Linked DNA regions of Homo sapiens: all the other regions are linked to region 2. Evidence: promoter capture Hi-C in 16 types of primary human blood cells and fetal thymus (Javierre and others, 2016). All regions are on one chromosome and are shown on one strand. Each heading gives the region's core, a stretch centred on a gene start or on the middle of the fragment in contact. The rest is flanking DNA. Distances are from core to core; before and after follow the strand shown.

What was found. The method cuts DNA at HindIII sites, captures the fragments that hold promoters and counts their contacts. A CHiCAGO score of 5 or more calls a contact.
Region 1: a contact is called between a fragment that was not itself captured here and the fragment with the promoter of TCP11L1 in region 2, in 1 of 17 cell types (M2 macrophages). The highest score is 5.3, in M2 macrophages.
Region 3: a fragment that was not itself captured here is called in contact with the fragment with the promoter of TCP11L1 in region 2 in 3 of 17 cell types (activated CD4 T cells, fetal thymus and naive CD8 T cells); the score reaches 5.6 in activated CD4 T cells.

Annotation. Positions count from the first base shown.
Region 1 is chr11:32,804,829-32,807,528 of GRCh38, reverse strand. It overlaps a transcript of CCDC73 not described here. Among named protein-coding and RNA genes, the nearest start is that of CCDC73, 12 kb to the right of the region's middle. The HindIII fragment of the contact is 8,561 bases long and covers 1-2,700 here.
Region 2 is chr11:33,038,128-33,040,827 of GRCh38, reverse strand. TCP11L1 (t-complex 11 like 1) reads right to left here and starts at 1,256. Exons shown (of 10, transcript NM_018393.4): 1 at 1,036-1,256. RefSeq lists enhancers at 436-755, 1,236-1,585, 1,306-1,853 and a silencer at 856-1,255. The HindIII fragment of the contact is 10,463 bases long and covers 1-2,700 here.
Region 3 is chr11:32,888,094-32,890,793 of GRCh38, reverse strand. No RefSeq gene overlaps it. Among named protein-coding and RNA genes, the nearest start is that of QSER1, 3.4 kb to the left of the region's middle. The HindIII fragment of the contact is 5,575 bases long and covers 1-2,700 here.

The DNA.
Region 1 (2,700 bases), core at 165-2,664, 230 kb after region 2:
GTCCTGGGCCACATGCAGCCCACAAGCCATGGGTTGGACAAACTTTATGTATGGCATGCAAAACCTAAATATTTACTATCTGGCCCTTTCTAGAAAATATTTGTTGGCCTCATTTCTAGGTAGCTCTTACTCTTGAATTTCAGAATGTTTTCCATGGGTCTAGAGATTTTCCTTTATTTCCTTTCATTATCAGCAGGGGTTAGTGGTGCAGGCCGAAAGAGTGAGGGTCGTGATCAATTCAGTATACCACTGGAAGCTATACGAGTAAACAGCAAATTGTTTTCATAAATGCAGGATGTTGGCAAACTGACAAACTGCGTCCACTGCCCAGAAGGAATGCTGAGGGCAGTCACACCCAAAGTGCAGTGCTTCTTGTGATTAGGCATATTTGAAGCCTGTTAGCAATAATGTGAACCTGTGATCAATCAAACAGCTGACCAATCGTTACCTCCTCCTCCCTGCTCTTTCTACCCAATAAATAGGAAGGGCTGTAGAAGCTCAGGGTGGCTGCTCTTGCTCACTAGAAGCAGGGAGCCCTCTTCTTCTTCCCTGGACCCCTTCTTAAAAACAGATTATTTTGTCTTAAGTTTTCATTTCTGCATTCGTCTTCCTTCACTCAGACCCATAGTAGCAGTGGCAAACCGCGGCAGGTTAGTACCAGAATCAAACAGATGCTTTTTCAAATTCTGTCTGCCTGGGGCCCATGTCAGACCTATCAGATCAGAATTCTTAACTGTGCCGGCCTTTTTGCTCACATAATCCTGAGTAAGAATTTTCTAACCATTTTGCCTTTAAGGCCAGCTCTGTGATTTGGACCTGGGGAGGCTAACCACCTGAAAGAAGTCTATTTGGAAGACTTTTCTCTCGTTTCTTTCTTTCTTTCTTTTTTTTTTTTTTTGAGACAGGTCTTGCTCTGTCACCCAGGCTGCCAGGCTAGAGTGCAGTGGCATGATCTCAGCTCATTGCAACCTCCGCCTCCTGGGTTCAAGCAATCCTCCCGCCTCAGCCTCCCGAGTAGCTGGGACTACAAGTGTGCACCACCTCGCCTGGCTAATTTTTATATTTTATGTAGAGATGGGGTTTCACCGTGTTGCCCAGGCTGGTCTTGAACTCCTGGGCTCAAGGGATCCCCCCACCCGCCTCAGCCTCCCAAAGTGCGGGATGATAGGGGTGAGCTACCATGCCTGGGCAGTGACTAGCTTTTTTCTCCATGATTTTTCCTGTGTCTCCTTTGTGTCAACACCAATCAACAGGAATCTAAGTGTTATTTTAAGAGGTTTGGCTTTCACAAAAATAGCTACATTCAATAATGGAAATAAACTTGGATTTTTAACCTCCTTTAACTAGTTTTCTGCTTACAGCAAAGATTATACACATATTAGTCAGGAAGTTCACATAGGGCAATGTGAGTTAAACCCATTATTATCTTGGGTCAAATTAGTTTACTACTTCATAACAAGAAAAGAGGACTTTCCAAAAATGAGTCTTAGATCCTGCAAAGGCCACAAAATGAACCACAGATTTGGAATTAGCTATAGCTTGTTTAACTTTGGGAAAAGTATTTGAAATCTTTGGGCTTTAATTATTGGCATTGTAGTTTGAATTGAGAATTTTATTTCCTTCTTGCTCTAAAATTCTTTAATGCTATACTTGAGTATAGGCCTGTGACTGGTCAGCTCCAGTTGAGTCTCCACAGAGAAGCACTTGGTGGCTCAGAGGGCTAGTCAGGAGCAGGGGGGAAAGGCATAAAGATGTGGAAATTAACTGAAAAATAATACCATAGCTTTTCCCAAGACTGGTCTAGGTCTCTCTTGCTATGTCTTGTGGAATTTTTAACTGACTTCATATGGATGTTTCAAGCCGCATTTGGCCAAAATATCAATTTGTATGGTAGATAAATCTGATCTGAAGGATTTTCTTCAGAAAATTACCTCAAGTTGGCTTTGTGTTTTATATTTTTGTTTAACTTAGACCCACATTTTGGATATAGTTTCTTACACTTGACTTGACTCACTGAACTCTATGAATAAAGGGGCCCAGCAAGCATTTTAGTATATTTTATAGCAGTATAAGTTTTAAGAGCTCTTTCATCCTTTTCCTACTTATGTGGAATGCTTATTAATGTCACAGGGATTTACTATGATTGAAATAAAGGGAGTCTGTGACCTTGGAAAGTTTGTAAGCAGTCTTTAGGTGCATAAATGGTATAACTTGTTTATGAACATCAAATAAAAGTTCAAATAGCATTAACATGAAAAGCAGAAAATAAGATGTGGAAGATATGTCTATATCATTAACTGAAGAGAATTGAAAGAGAAATTAAATTAATTATCTGGGTAACTGCCTCATTTTTTCACTCTTAAGGCTGGGACACTATTGTTAGAAACTCACTCTACTCAGCCTGAGTAATGGAAGAGCCTTCTTTGAGATACAAGGTTCTGTATGTTCGAATTAGTGTATCAATGATTGCAGAGATAGAACTACTTTCTGATGACTTTTTTCTGTTCTCTTAAGGTGGTTTGTCTCTGTATCCACTCCTTTATTCTGCAGTTTGAGTCAGGGAAAGAACAGGTAAGTGTTTAATCTATATTCTGAACTAATTTTGAAGGAAGAAGCAGGTGAAGGTTGGGCAGAGGATGAACATTCACTACATACTTTGGCATTAGTGGAGTCTCTTTTTAATGTAAATACTCAATGAAG
Region 2 (2,700 bases), core at 7-2,506:
AAAAGGAGTAGGATTTCACCTAGTTAAAACATGTCTGGAGGGGGAGAGGAGGGGGAGAGGAGGTGAAAAGGAGGGCATTTCACTCAGAGGGCAGAAGCCAAGGCACAAGAAAATGAGAAAAGGAAGTGGCTAGAGATGATGGAAAGATGCGTTGGGGCCAGATGGTAAAAGTGCTAGTTTTTATTTTAAAATTCCCCACCTAGATTTCGAACTTCTTAAGAGCCAGGACCAGTCATATTCCCCACTTATGCTCCATCTGTATATCCCCCAAATAGACACCCACAAGTATCTGTTGATAGAGATGAATCCCTACGTCATCTCTGTGATGTCACTGTATCTGGGAGGCTGGGCGTTGGTTTCAGACATACCTGGGCCCCAATTCTGGCTCTTTACTAGCTGTGTAACTTCAGTGTCCTCCTCTGTAAAACACAGCTACCTACCTGCTCGGTTTGGGGGGAGATGAAACGAGGGATTGTGCACGGCAGGCCTTCTACAAATGGTAACTCTAATTAAAGGGCTCTAGGATGCGGCCACGAACCATTTAATTTGCTTATATCGCGCGCATCCATTCAACCCCCACTGTGTCTAAAAAGAGAGCCGAGGGGAGGAGGATCCTCGCACTTGCCAAGAAGACGGTCATCCGTCGGCGCTGCACGCGGGCCTAGGCTGGACACAAGAGGCTCCCCAGCAGAAAGGGTCTTTCGGCAAAAGAAAAAAGGGGCTCTGTCCCCCGGCGCCGGGAATCCCCTCCTCTGGCACTGAGCTCCACTCGCGCCCGGCGTCCGGATTCCGTTGTAAACAGCTGTTCAGGCCAGCGAGGGAGTGGCAGGGCCGGGAGTAGGGGAGGACGCGGGCGCGCCGAGAGGACAGCCTCGAGGGGTGAGCTCCACCCGCCCGCGGACCCCGCCTCTTCCTCGCCTGCCCCCGACATCCCGGGATGGGATCCGACGGGAAGAGGCGAAGAGATGCCTGCGACTTGGACCGCGCGCCTCCCGGACGGGCCCCGCCAGCCTCCGCCCCAGCTCCCGCTCTCACCTGCCACGGAGTCGGCGTTCTCCCTCCTGCCGCTCCCGCCGCGAATCAGGCGCGGGCTGGCGCCGCGGCGGAAGCCGGAGGGATGCGCGGCAGGCAGGGGCGGTTCAGCCTCTGCCCCTCCGAGGCCGCATCCCTCGCCACGCGGCGGGCGGTCCTCCCAGCCCGACTCGGGTGGGCAGCGGTCAGAGCGGCCGCTTCTCAGCATCAGGAAGGAGGAGACTGCTCTTGGCCGGGAGGCGCCAGCCCAATATAGGGCAGCGCCATGTCTTCGTACGGAAAGGCGGGAGGGTCTTTCCCCTGCTTGCCGAAGGGGTTCAGTAAGCGGTGACTCGCAGCTGGGCGGCGCCGTGTTTCCTCAGGGAGAGGTGGAAAACATGGCCGATGACCGCTCAGGGGGCTCCGTGGCCAGTGGCTCCCAGCCAAGAGTCGCCCGCCGCACGCAGTGAGGCGCCATGTTTTCGTACGGAAACGCGAGAGGCATGGCCGAGTGCCCGCCGATGAGTCTCAGCTGGCGGTGGCTCGAAGCTGGGGATGGCCCGCCCCTAGGCGCCATGTTTCCATACGGAAAGACGGAACGCGCGCCGCATCCCAGCCGCTGGTGCGGGTGACGCGAGGAGAAAGGGAGGCGGAGAAGGCGCGGGTCAGTCAAAAGAAGGAATAAGAAGCCATTGCATCTGAAACCTTCCCCGCCCGTTCTTTGAAATTTAATTTTGCCATCCTGTTTGTAGCTACACAAAGTTTATTCCCCTTCTCTCATTTCCTCAGCTTTAAAAAAAAGTTAGTCCGGGCGCAGCAGCTCACGCCTGTAATCCCAGCACTTTGAGAGGCCGAGGCGGGCGGATCACGAGGTCAAGAGATCGAGACCATCCTGGCCAACATGGTGAAACCTCGTCTTTACTAAAAATACGAAAATTAGCTGGGTGTGGTGGCGCGCGCCTGTAGTCCCAGCTACTCGGGAGGCTGAGGCAGGAGAATCGCTTGAATCTGGGAGGCGGAGGTTGCAGTGAGGCGAGATCGCGCCACTGCACTGCGGCCTGGAGACAGACCGAGACTCTGTCTCAAAAACAAACAAACAAAAAAAAACTACAAAAAAGCAGATGGGGTGACATTGGTGCTTTCAAACACTGCTTCTAAATAGATCACATGTGGGTAGTTATTGCTAACGTATTGAAGGCCGAGTGCAATACCAGACCCTCAAACCATTTACTAACTTGCACATTAAAGTCTTTGCTTTAAAAAAAAAAAAAAAAAGACAAAAACAGAAGTTCTCTGGTGAAGATTCACTTTTTGGAGGAAAAAACACCAAAAACCCTTAAGATACTCAACTAAATGGAACTGTTAAGATCTACAAAGAATGGCTGGGCGCGGTGGCTCACACCTGTAATCCTAGCTCTTTGGGAGGTCGGAGGTGGGTGGATCACAAGGTCAGGAGTTCGAGACCAGCCTGGCCAATATGGTGAAACCTCGTTTCTACTAAAAATACAAAAAAATTAGCCGGGCATGGTGGCATATGCCTGTAATCCCAGCTACTTGGGAGGCTGAGGCAGGAGAATTGCTTGAATCCGGGAAGCAGAGGTTGCAGTGAGCCGGGATCGCACCACTGCACTGCAGCCTGGGTGACAGAGTGAGATTCCGTCTGAAAAAAAAAAAAAAGATCTGCAAAGA
Region 3 (2,700 bases), core at 38-2,537, 150 kb after region 2:
TCATAATTGCATACATTTATGGGGTACAATGTGATGCTTTGATATATGTAAATAAATCTTTTAAAAATTTTGTACACTTGATGATACTATCTGAAGAATGTCTTCTTCCCTACTGAAAATATACTTCCAGCTCTGTGAACGTTTCGGGATCTCTCAAATGATTCGTAACCAAGCTGCTTCAAGTCTGATCTAGGTAATGTCAAACTCTAGAATGAGCATTGTTGGTCCCGTGTTTTTGTTTGTTCGTTTTTTCAGACAGTCTCGCTCTGTCGCCCAGGCTTGAGTGCAGTGGGGTGATCTCGTCTCACTGCAACCTCCGCCTCCCGGATTCAAGCGATTCTCCTGCCTCAGCCTCCTGAGTAGCTGGGAATACAGGCGCATGCCACCACGCCCAGCTAATTTTTTTGTATTTTTAGTAGAGACGGGTTTCACCATTTTGGCCAGGCTAGTCTCGAACTCTTGACCTCAGATGATCCGCCTGCCTCAGCCTCCCAAAGTTCTGGGATTACAGGCGTGAGCCACCGCGACCTGTGAAATACGTATTGATTTTCTAATGGGATGGGAGTTAGGGTGGAAAATGTGGGGAGATTGTTCATGGGCATGTTCTAAGGCATGACTAACTCTAGACAATAAACTCAGAAGGAAGTGGGAGATGGAGGTGAGGAAGAAGGAAAGAGTTTTTTTTGTTTTTTTTCAGACAGGGTCTCGCTATGGTGTCCAAGGCTGGTCTTGAGCTCCTGGCCTCAAGCAATCCTCCCACCTCAGCCTTCCAAAGTGCTGGAAGATTCCTTCTTAAGTGTAGGATTTACTCCAATTCATCTTAAAACCAAACTGCCTTTGATTTAATCAATTTTCAAATCTTGCCCCGATTTTAGAATTGAGATAGAGTGTTTTGGTTTTTCTTTTTTGGGGGGGAAAGGAAAGGAATATGTAAATGACTAATTGGAACTTCTGAATGGGCATTTTTTTTTCTTAGATAGCGTCTTGCTCTGTCGCCCAGGCTGGAGTGCAGTGGCGCGATTTCGGCTCACTGCAAGCTCTGCCTCCTGGGTTTTACGCCATTCTCCTGCCTAAGCCTCCCGAGTAGCTGGGACTACAGGTGCCCGCCACCACGCCCAGCTAATTTTTTGTATTTTTAGTAGAGACGAGGTTTCGTCGTGTTAGCCAGGATGGTCTCGATCTCCTGACCTCGTGATATGCCCACCTCAGCCTCCCAAAGTGCTGGGATTACAGGCATGAGCCACCGCATCCAGCCTGAATGGGCATTTTTAAAGTAGCTTACATATTTATTCATTCAATAGATATGTATTTAGAGCCTAATACAGTGCCAAGCATAATACTAAATGCTGTGAATACGAGGGTAAATTTAATACAACGCCTGTCTTTATGGAACCTGTAATTTATGAGGAAAAGAGGCAGACACACAACTAATTGTAATGCAATAGGATAGTGTTAAATATAATAGAAATTGGAATAAAGCACCAGAGGACAATTGAAAAGGAAGTAATTGATTTTGCCTCTCAAAAAAAAAAAAAAAAGAAAATAAGTATTTCAACTGGTAGAAAGATTGTAGTTCTATTGAGTACATAGTTCATTGCCTTCCTTTTGTAGTTGAGGAAGCTGAGGCCTGGTATTGAGTGACTTGCTTTAAGATGATGGAGGGAATCAGTTGGGGTGAGACCCAGGAAACCCCATCTTCACTGAGGTGGCCTTGTTCATTAGCTTGTTGGGAAATGCAGAATTTGGGGTTGCCTAACTAGAAATGTAGTCAGTAAGTCCACACATTCCTATGTTATAAATAGACCAACCATCAAGAAGAAAGATCCAAGAAGGTCAAGTTTGTGGTTTCACTGAGAATACAAGGAATATGTGTGTGAGAAGTGATTTGAACAGGGAAAGAAGATATGGTTTTAAATTTTTCCCTTCTCTTCTGGCATTGAGGGAAACTATAAGCCCTGTCTTTGCCAGAGCAGCCCTGGTTTCCATCTCTTAGGTCAACATCATAAATTAAATTAAAACATCAGAAAGGAAATAAAAATTAGCCAGGCATGGTGGTGCACCTGTAGTCCTGAGAGGTGACAGCGTGCTGGCAGCCCTCGCTTGCTCTCGGCGCCTCCTAGGCCTTGGCGCCCACTCTGGCCACACTTGAGGAGCCCTTCAGCCCACTGCTGCACTGTGGGAGCCCCTTTCCGGGCTGGCCAAGGCCAGAGCCGGCTCCCTCAGCTTGAGGGGAGGTGTGGAGGGAGAGGCGGGGGCAGGAACCGGGACTGTCCGGGGCGCTTGCGGGCCAGTGCCTGTTCTGGGTAGGCGTGGGCTCGGCGGGCCCCCCACTCGGAGCTGCCAGCCAGCCCCGCCAGCCCTGGGCAGTGAGGGGCTTAGCACCTGGGCCAGCAGCTGCTGTGCTCGATTTCTTGCCGGGCCTTAGCTGCCTCCCCCGGGGGGCAGGGCTCGGGACCTGCAGCCTGCTATGCCTGAGTCTTACCCCCTGCTGTGGGCTCCTGTGGGGCGGAGCCTCCCCGATGAGCGCCGCCCCGCTGCTCCATGGCACCCAGTCCCATCGGAGGCCCAAGGGCTGAGGAGTGTGGAGCACTGCGTGGGAGTGGCAGCCAGCTCCACCTGCTGCCTGGTGCGGGATCCACTGGGTGAAACCAGCTGGGCTCCTGAGTCTGGTGGGGACTTGGAGAACCTTTACGTCTAGCT